Regions from separate parts of the Homo sapiens genome. Here regions 1 and 3 are each linked to region 2. The links are contacts of gene promoters, found by promoter capture Hi-C in blood cells and fetal thymus (Javierre and others, 2016). All regions are on one chromosome and are shown on one strand. Each heading gives the region's core, a stretch centred on a gene start or on the middle of the fragment in contact. The rest is flanking DNA. Distances are from core to core; before and after follow the strand shown.

Region 1 (2,864 bases), core at 217-2,716, 3.3 Mb after region 2:
AGTCTAAATTTTTGAAGAGAAACTCAGAGAAATTCATTGTGTCTTACAGTAGGAACCAATCCTTGGGAACCTTGGTCTTGGACTTCTAGCTTCCAGAACTGTGAGACAATACATATCTGCTGTTCTAAACCAACCAGTCAGTGGTACTTTGTTACAGCAGCCCCAGGAAACAAATATATTCCACCACCAAGTTTATGCAGAAAGAGATTCATTCATTCATTTGACAGTCTTGCTCGGTTGCCCAGGCTGCAGTGCAGTGGTGCAATCTCGGCTCACTACAACCTCTGCCTCCTGGGTTCAAGCAATTGTCCCACCTCAGCCTCTCGAGTAGCTGGAGCTACAGCCGTGCAGCTCCATGCCCAGCTAATTTTTGTATTTTTAGTAGGGATGGGGTTTTGCCATGTTGCCAGGCTAGTCTCGAACTCCTGGCCTCAGTGATCTGCCTGTTTGGCCTCCCAAAGTGCTGGGATTACAGGCGTGAGCCACCACACCCGGCCCGAAAGATATTTAATATGGGAAATTAGATGCTTATAAATCTGTTAGAGTGCCTGGGAAAAACAGGTGTTAGCTAGACATCCAGGAATTACTTCCCGAACAATGTCACAAAATCAGTACACCAGAAGTTACTGTATATTTATCATAAGCGACAGCTGGCTCTCGGGATCTTTTTATCTCGACTGTTATCTGAGAATCAGGAAAATATCATCAGAACCATTAAGTCCAGAACCACGTCATGCTTCCCATGATCTTGCGTCCCAGAGTAGGTGTCCCTTTTGTTTGTCATAGTGTACTAGGGAGCCTTTAGATCTGCAAAGGTAGCAGCTAACCAAGGGCTAAAAGTGAAATTTCTCTTCACCATCAAATATGAGCAAATTGAGTTTGTGTGAGGGAGACAAAAAACAGAAAAACAGAGAAGGGAGATATGAAAAGCTTCTAAGAATGTCAAACAACATTTGAGAACCTGGAGTAGAGTTGTAAAGAGGCTAATGAGAAGGCTTGAGAAATGGGGCAAGTGAAGTAGTTTAAATGCAGGGATGTCTAACATATAATTTTCAGTTGTCACTGCTGTAATTTAAAATCACTATTGCTGGGCGTGGTGGCTCATGCCTGTAATCCCAGCACTTTCAGAGGCCAAGATGGGCGGATCACCTGAGGTCAGGAGTTTGAGGCCAGCCTGGCCAACATGGCAAAACCCTGTCTCTACTGAAAATACAGCCGGGCGCAGTGGCTCACACCTGTAATCCCAGCACTTTGGATGTCTAGCTAACACCTCAGGGCGGATCATCTGAGGTCAGGAGTTCGAGACCAGCCTGACCAACATGGAGAAACCCCGTTTCTACTAAAAAAATACAAAATTAGCCGGGCGTGGTGGTGCATACCTGTAATCCCAACTACTCGGGAGGCTGAGGCAGGAGAATCACTTGAACCCGGGAGGCAGAGGTTGCGGTGAGCTGAGATCATGCCATTGCACTCCAGCCTGGGCAACAAGAGCGAAACTCTGTCTTTCAAAAAAATAAATAAACAAAATACAAAAATTAGCTGGCGAGTGGCCCACGCCTATTGTAATCCCAGCTACTTGGGAGGCTGAGGTGGGAGAATCCCTTGAACCCAGGAGGCAGAGGTTGCAGTGAGCTGAGATTGTGCCACTGCACTCCAGCCTGGGCTACAGAGCGAGACTTGATCTCAAAAATAAATATATAAATATAAATAAAATAACTCTATTATCTCAAATAGTTTCTAAAATATGCCACAAATTTTGATGGTAGGAGGATAAAAAGAAGGGCTACGTTCTATTGGGGTGTGGGTGTGGAGCAAAGGGAAGAAATCAGGACCATATCTTAACTCCCAAGTTATTTTGTCGTTAACTGCTCTTAATTGTGTTGTCACACTGCCCTCTCATGGTCCCGTCAGTATCTCACCAGATTCAATTTCTGGCTTCTGAACCATCTGGCCAATTCCACCATCTGCAAACAATTTCCTGCACCTGCTAACAAAGTATGTGTTAAGCTTGAGGCCTGGGGAGTAGCAAATTGATTAAAGCTGTTTACTTTATCATCTTTGCAAAACACGGGCAGTTTCCAAAATATGACAAAGAGGCTTCCCCAACAGAGCTGTATATTTTATATTAACATTAGATCCCCACTAACCGCTATGATTTGAAGGTGCAGATACCGGCATCTTGGCTGTGATTGATGATCAAAATGTTGGCATAAAATGATATTGGACACATGCGATAAAAACAGTCTGACCTTTTCCAAGATCGATTAATTTCCAGTTATTAATTTAATCCAAAATAAACTTCCTCTAATTCGGGATTTTAAGTTAGAACAAAGCCAGGCTACTCCCTAGCTAAGTAACTTGGCATCTATTCTAATGAGGAGTCCTATGCCAAGCCAGACTCATATGTGTTGGTGAGATTTGATTGCCAGTCCTGGTTGCAATTATATCAATTCAGAGCTGCTTAAATCCTTGTTATTCCAGATTTTCCAAATAAAAAAGAAAAGAAAACCCCATATCCAGTAGACTAATATTATGTAACACGCTTCATACGAGGTAGTGGGGGAACCCAGCTAAATAAGATAATCACTTCTGCCCTTCGTGAGCTCACTATTGGTGAAGGGGGAGGGCATGTTAGTGCCATATCCACGGTTCCTCCCTACTCTCCAGCAAAATATACTGCCTGGCTAAGATCCGTATGCCTAACAAGTACTTCATCAATATGTGTTGAATTAATGAAGAAAGGAATAAATACACGAGGCAGAATGTGTAGCGGTTGAGAGTTTGCTGCCGGGCATGGTGGCTCACACCTGTAATCCCAGCACTTTGGGAGTCCGAGGCGGGTGGATCACCTGAGGTCAGGAGTT
Region 2 (2,700 bases), core at 151-2,650:
GAATTACAATAAATATTGGGAAACTATTAAATAGGATTTTTAGCAGGCACTGACTGCCTAAAAGTAACTTCTGGTAAAGAAAAAAAAAATAGCCATTTCTTTCACTTAAATCATCAATCCCCAAAGAAAGAAAATGTGTGGGTGGTTGTTGTTGTTTCCCTAACTCTCGTTGTTCCAGACTAGGCCTGATTTCCTTTGAGAGATCTTTCAAACTTGATATATTTTTATGATTTGTACCAGGAAGCCATTATAACACGCAACTGTATACTAAAGTTCACCATCATTTAAAAAAAAAAAAAAAATCCTCCTCTCTCTATCCATCCCTGCACCGCCAACCCCCACCCTCCCAAAAAATCAGAATTTTTTTCCTCATGTTTTCCACTAGAACTGGCATAATTACAACAACTTAAAGATATCAACAAACAAATTAGGTAAATAACCATGTCTTTTTTCAGTGAACAAGCCAGGCTCATTCTTTATAATTGCTGTATACTGGAGTCCAATGTATCAGGCTAGGCAATTAACTGAAATACTGAATTACAACTTCAAATGAATAAATCCTGTTTTTAACTGTAACTTTCATTGCTTCTGAAAACCAGTCTGGCAACATTTTAACAGCTATTATGCCACTTTGTCTTTAAGTCTCGGGGGCACTAAAATATAAAAGTTATTTAAACGTGTTTTCTCAAACAATGACCTGTCAACTCTATATACTACAGATAAACAAGGCTATTCTCCACCACGAGTTGACACGTTGCCTTCGGAAGGTTTCCTGCGCCGAGGAAAAGTAGTGACAGTCGAACCTGTCTCTCAGCATCTCGCCCTCCCCCGCCCCCTTCTCATTTTCCGAAGCACTGTGCGAAACTCCTTCCGGGCAAGGCCAAGACTCTTAAAGAGACAGAGGGCAACGTGCTGCCACGAATGTGGCATTTGTCTGAATGGGGGTAGGGAGTCTGACATCCGGGAGGACTGGGACTCGACCGATTGGGATCCTACTCGCCTGCGGACTGGAGAAACCACCTGGGAACCGGGCACTGTGACAAGCAAAGGGTCAGAATCAGGTGCGATCGAGGAAGCACCTGAACTCCTTCGAGTTGCAGGATAGCACACAAGCACCCGGACCTGGCAAAGGGAAGCTCCCAGTAGCATCGTTGCCTAGGGTCCTGCCAGTAACGCCCCCGTGGGAGGTGGAGCGGCTTCTCCGTCCGACCGGCTCTCTAGAGATCAATGAAGACAGGAAGCCAAGCCCATGACAGGCTCCCAGTTCCCTCAATTGCATTTACGCCCTAAACAGCCCTGGAACAACCGAGGGAACAGCACCCAGCGGTGTTTCAGTATTTTACCTTGTGTTATGGTCCCAGCCTACCGCCATGTTTCACAGAAGCCCGGGTCGCCGGGGCTCCCGCGTACCCGGAAATATCGCGAGAACAAAAGCGACTATCACAGCTGAAAACGTCAGAAAAGAGACAATGTACAGATCTCGCGATATTCCCTTTGCTTACGACGTGCTTAGGGAATGAAGAGGCGTGGTTAAGATAAAAGAGGCGTGCCTACAGGGAAATGAGGTTGCAACTTGTTTTAGGTGTAATCGCGCCGCCAGTCCGGTTCTGTTTCTATGGGAAGGGAGGGGTTACTTTCCGACTAACACTGAGACTGCAGAACGAATCTCAGCTCCTCACACCGTATTTCATTACTAATAAGAGCCTTGGGCGCAGAAATTATCCCTAACAACCCTAATGCATATCACCTGTGCAATTGTTTTGTTTCCCTCTTTCAGTTTTTGTGTCGTTTTCCCCTGACAAGAACATTTGAGCTTCCTTTTCCGCCATAGGTAACGCTTTTTATTATTTGATCAGCGTTTTTATTGTCTTCCAGGTTTTAATATCATAAGAAAGCACATATGTCTTCCTCATCTCCCTTCGCCAACACCAACTATGCCTTCAAATATTTGTTAAGAAAGAAAATTAATACCTCATCTTTTTCTACCACTTCATAGAACAGGAGTTAATAGACGGAACTTCGGAAAGAAAAGTTAAATGTGAACTCCTGGAGAGTAAACCCATTCCAGGTTCCTTTTCACCCATCTGTTACCAGATTTTATAATCAAACATTGAGATTTAAATTTTCTGATTCATTGACCTAGAAGTCTAACAACGGCATAATTATGACAACTGCTTATAATTACTGTTTAAAGGCTTTAACTGCTTTTTTAAAAAATCTGCGTATCCTCACAACACTCTTAGAAGATAATACCAGTATTTACCTGTTTTATAAATACGGAATTTGAGTCAAGGGGTAGTGAAGTGATTTACCCAAATTCAGACCGCTGGGAGAGTCAGGGAAATCTTGATCACAATACTAAACTGTGCCTCAAAGGAAAAAAATCACATTGTTTTATGTAGTGAATTAACCTTTACTGAAATACTAAATTTCACTAAATTGAATATCCCCCAAAATAAGGACTGATGAAAAGTTTCCAATGAATCAATTTTATTTTCAGACTTTCAGAGTTAGTCTAATTAAATCAATTTAAAGTTCTCACTTTCTTGACATGCTTAAGAAGTATAGTGTAGTGGGTGAAATCATAGACACTGGAGACAGGACTTCCTGGGTTAGAATTCCAGATCAGCAACTTACTAGCATGTAACCTTGACCACATTATTTCATCTCTTTGTGTCTCCATTTGCTCATCTGTAAAAT
Region 3 (2,700 bases), core at 53-2,552, 3.4 Mb after region 2:
CTCTGAGCTTGGTGATAGCCGCCGCAGTCCCCTACCAGCATGTTCTTTCCCAGGCCATGTTGTCGGGACTGTAATTCAGCCATGACTGGCAAGCAACGAATCCGCCTGGCTGTTTGCTAATGTGATGAGAAAAGCAGGCTTCCCTCTTAGAAAGAGGATCTTGGAGACACTATTGTGATTGCATCTGAAAAGCTTAGATCAAATGGATAATGTCTTCAGTGAAGATCATTTTGGAATTTTCCTATTTATCAAGTTACCTTAGTAATTTTCTGGTCTCTCTGACAGAGTAGAAGTGAATCAATCAACTCATCATTGTCCCTCCATCAAGGCCAAGTGAATTTATATCTCCATTGGAGAAGAAACAAAACAATAAGCAATCATTCTATGTTTTGTAGAGCAATTCTATTTTGATTAAAACTATTTTTGTCTTTTTTTCTCAGTGTCTTCAATACGGACTTTATGTTTTTCTGTTATAAGCACTGACTGGTTAGTTACCAAAATGAGAAATAAGTCTGGAAACATCTCACTCATTAATGTTCTGTAACATCATAAGGGGAACAAATACCTTGTATTTACATAATGTTTGCAGAAAAGTCAAATATTACTTCCTTCATCCTCACAACCATAACAAAATGTGCTTCTGAGTCGTGGTCCAAAGACCATGGGACTAGGAGTCACAGACATGAGTAGCTATCTCAGCTTAACCTTGACTACCTGTTCCTCCTTAGATAAGTCATTTAACACACTAGCCTTGGTGTCCTCATTTTAGAAGTAAATGGGCTGGGCTTGGCGCGGTGGCTCATGCCTGTAATCCCAGCATTTTGGGAGGCCGAGGCAGGCAAATCACGACGTGGTCAGGAGATCGAGACCATCCTGGCTAACACGGTGAAACCCTGTCTCTACTAACAATACAAAAAATTAGCCAGGCATGGTGGCCGGCACCTGTAGTCCCAGCTACTTGGGAGGCTGAGGCAGGAGAATCACTTGAACCTGGGAGGCAGAGATTGCAGCAAGCTGAGATCTCGCCACTGCACTCCAGCCTGAGCGACAGAGCAAGACTCCATTTCAGAAAAAAAAGAAAAGAAAAGAAAAAAAAAAGTAAATGGGCTGGATTAGATGAATTCTAAAATCTCATTCACCTCTACAATTCTGAAATGCCTGTTTGCTATCACAGTAGTCAAAAGTCCCATTTATTGTTTCTCAGCTTTAACTTCATTATTTAAGCCACCACACCAGGGAGGAGGTTAAAAATGTATTCATCGGCCAGGCACAGTGGCCCATGCCTGCAATCCCAGCACTTTGGGAGGCCAAGATGGCGGATCACTTGAGGTCAGGAGTTTGAGACCAGCCTGGCCAACATGGTGAAACCCTATCTCTACTAAAATACAAAAAATAATTAGCCGGGCATGGTGATGGGCGCCCATAATCTCAGCTACTTGAGAGGCTGAGGCAGGAGAATCCCTTGAACCTGGGAGGTGGACGTTGCAGTGAGCAGAGATCATGCCTCTGCACTCCAGCCTGGGTGACAAAGTGAGACTCCCTCTCAAAGAAAAAAACAAACAAACAAAAAAAAGCCTGGGCGCAGTGGCTCACGCCTGTAATCCCAGCACTTTGGGAGGCTGAGGCAGGCAGATCACTTGAGGTTGGGAGTTCGAGACCGCCTGACCAACATGGTGAAACCCCATCTCTACCAAAAAATACAAAAAATTAGCTGGGCATGGTGGCACACACCTGTAGTCCCAGCTACTTGGGAGGCTGAGGCAGGAGAATTGCTTGAACCCAGGAGGCGGAGGTTGCAGTGAGCCGACATCATGCCACTGCACTCCAGCCTGGTGACGGAACAAGACTCTATTACAAAATAAATAAATAAATACATCTATTTTCTCCTCTACTGAGGTTTGCTTAAGCAGTAGAAGCCAGTTTAAGTCATGCTTACATGGCTGTTATTAGAGGGAAACTGTATTATGACAAGTTTTGAAAAATTAAGATTGAAGATTTAGAAAGTGATAGTTGACCAATGAAACATATATCATATTTGCAGAAAGATCCAGTGAAAATCCAAGCAGCTTTGCTCAGATCCAAACAGTTTCAATTGCCATTGATCTCATTCAAAGCTGCCCGTGGGTGGGAGACCGACCTGGAAGGGTGTCACTAACAGAGATAGCAAATGAAAACAACTCCTCTGTATTCTCATAGCTATTTTTTTCTAAAACCAAAGGAAATCTTAGACACCCATGCCCCTTCCCATTGTATGTCTCACGTAACTCTTCTCCAAGCACAGTTTAAGGAGGTTCAGGGGAGTGGCAATCAGGGACACAATGGTGTCAGATGGTGACCAAATATCTAGCACATAGCACCAACTGAGACACCTTTCCAATGGACTTGTAACATGATGTCACACTATATATTTGAGAAAGCTTCCAGTAAATAGGTGAATGTAGCCCTGGTTTATATGCCTCTTGTCTCAGCCTAATTATTTATATGACCCCTTTTATTCTCGAAAATGTCCTGTTTTGGGAATAAATTTTACAGACATTCTATCTAACATTTCTACTCTGGAAAACAAGTTAATTTTAAAAATGGGTATTTTTGAAACAGGGTCTTGCAATGTCCAGCCTGGAGGGCTGTGGCATGATCACGGCTCACTGCAGCCTCGACCTCCCAGGCTCAAGTGCTCCTCCCACTTCGGCCTGCTGAGTA

Evidence for each region. Contacts are between HindIII fragments. The CHiCAGO score rates a contact against its expected background, and 5 or more counts as called.
Region 1: a fragment that was not itself captured here is called in contact with the fragment with the promoter of ERGIC2 in region 2 in 2 of 17 cell types (naive CD8 T cells and non-activated CD4 T cells); the score reaches 5.3 in naive CD8 T cells.
Region 3: a contact is called between a fragment that was not itself captured here and the fragment with the promoter of ERGIC2 in region 2, in 1 of 17 cell types (total B cells). The highest score is 8.1, in total B cells.

Annotation. Positions count from the first base shown.
Region 1 is chr12:32,670,201-32,673,064 of GRCh38, forward strand. No RefSeq gene overlaps it. Among named protein-coding and RNA genes, the nearest start is that of DNM1L, 7.7 kb to the right of the region's middle. The HindIII fragment of the contact is 1,077 bases long and covers 929-2,005 here.
Region 2 is chr12:29,379,772-29,382,471 of GRCh38, forward strand. It overlaps ERGIC2 (ERGIC and golgi 2), which reads right to left and starts at 1,401. Exons shown (of 14, transcript NM_016570.3): 1 at 1,344-1,401. RefSeq lists an enhancer at 964-1,133. The HindIII fragment of the contact is 7,270 bases long and covers 1-2,700 here.
Region 3 is chr12:32,762,182-32,764,881 of GRCh38, forward strand. No RefSeq gene overlaps it. Among named protein-coding and RNA genes, the nearest start is that of YARS2, 7.6 kb to the left of the region's middle. The HindIII fragment of the contact is 2,225 bases long and covers 191-2,415 here.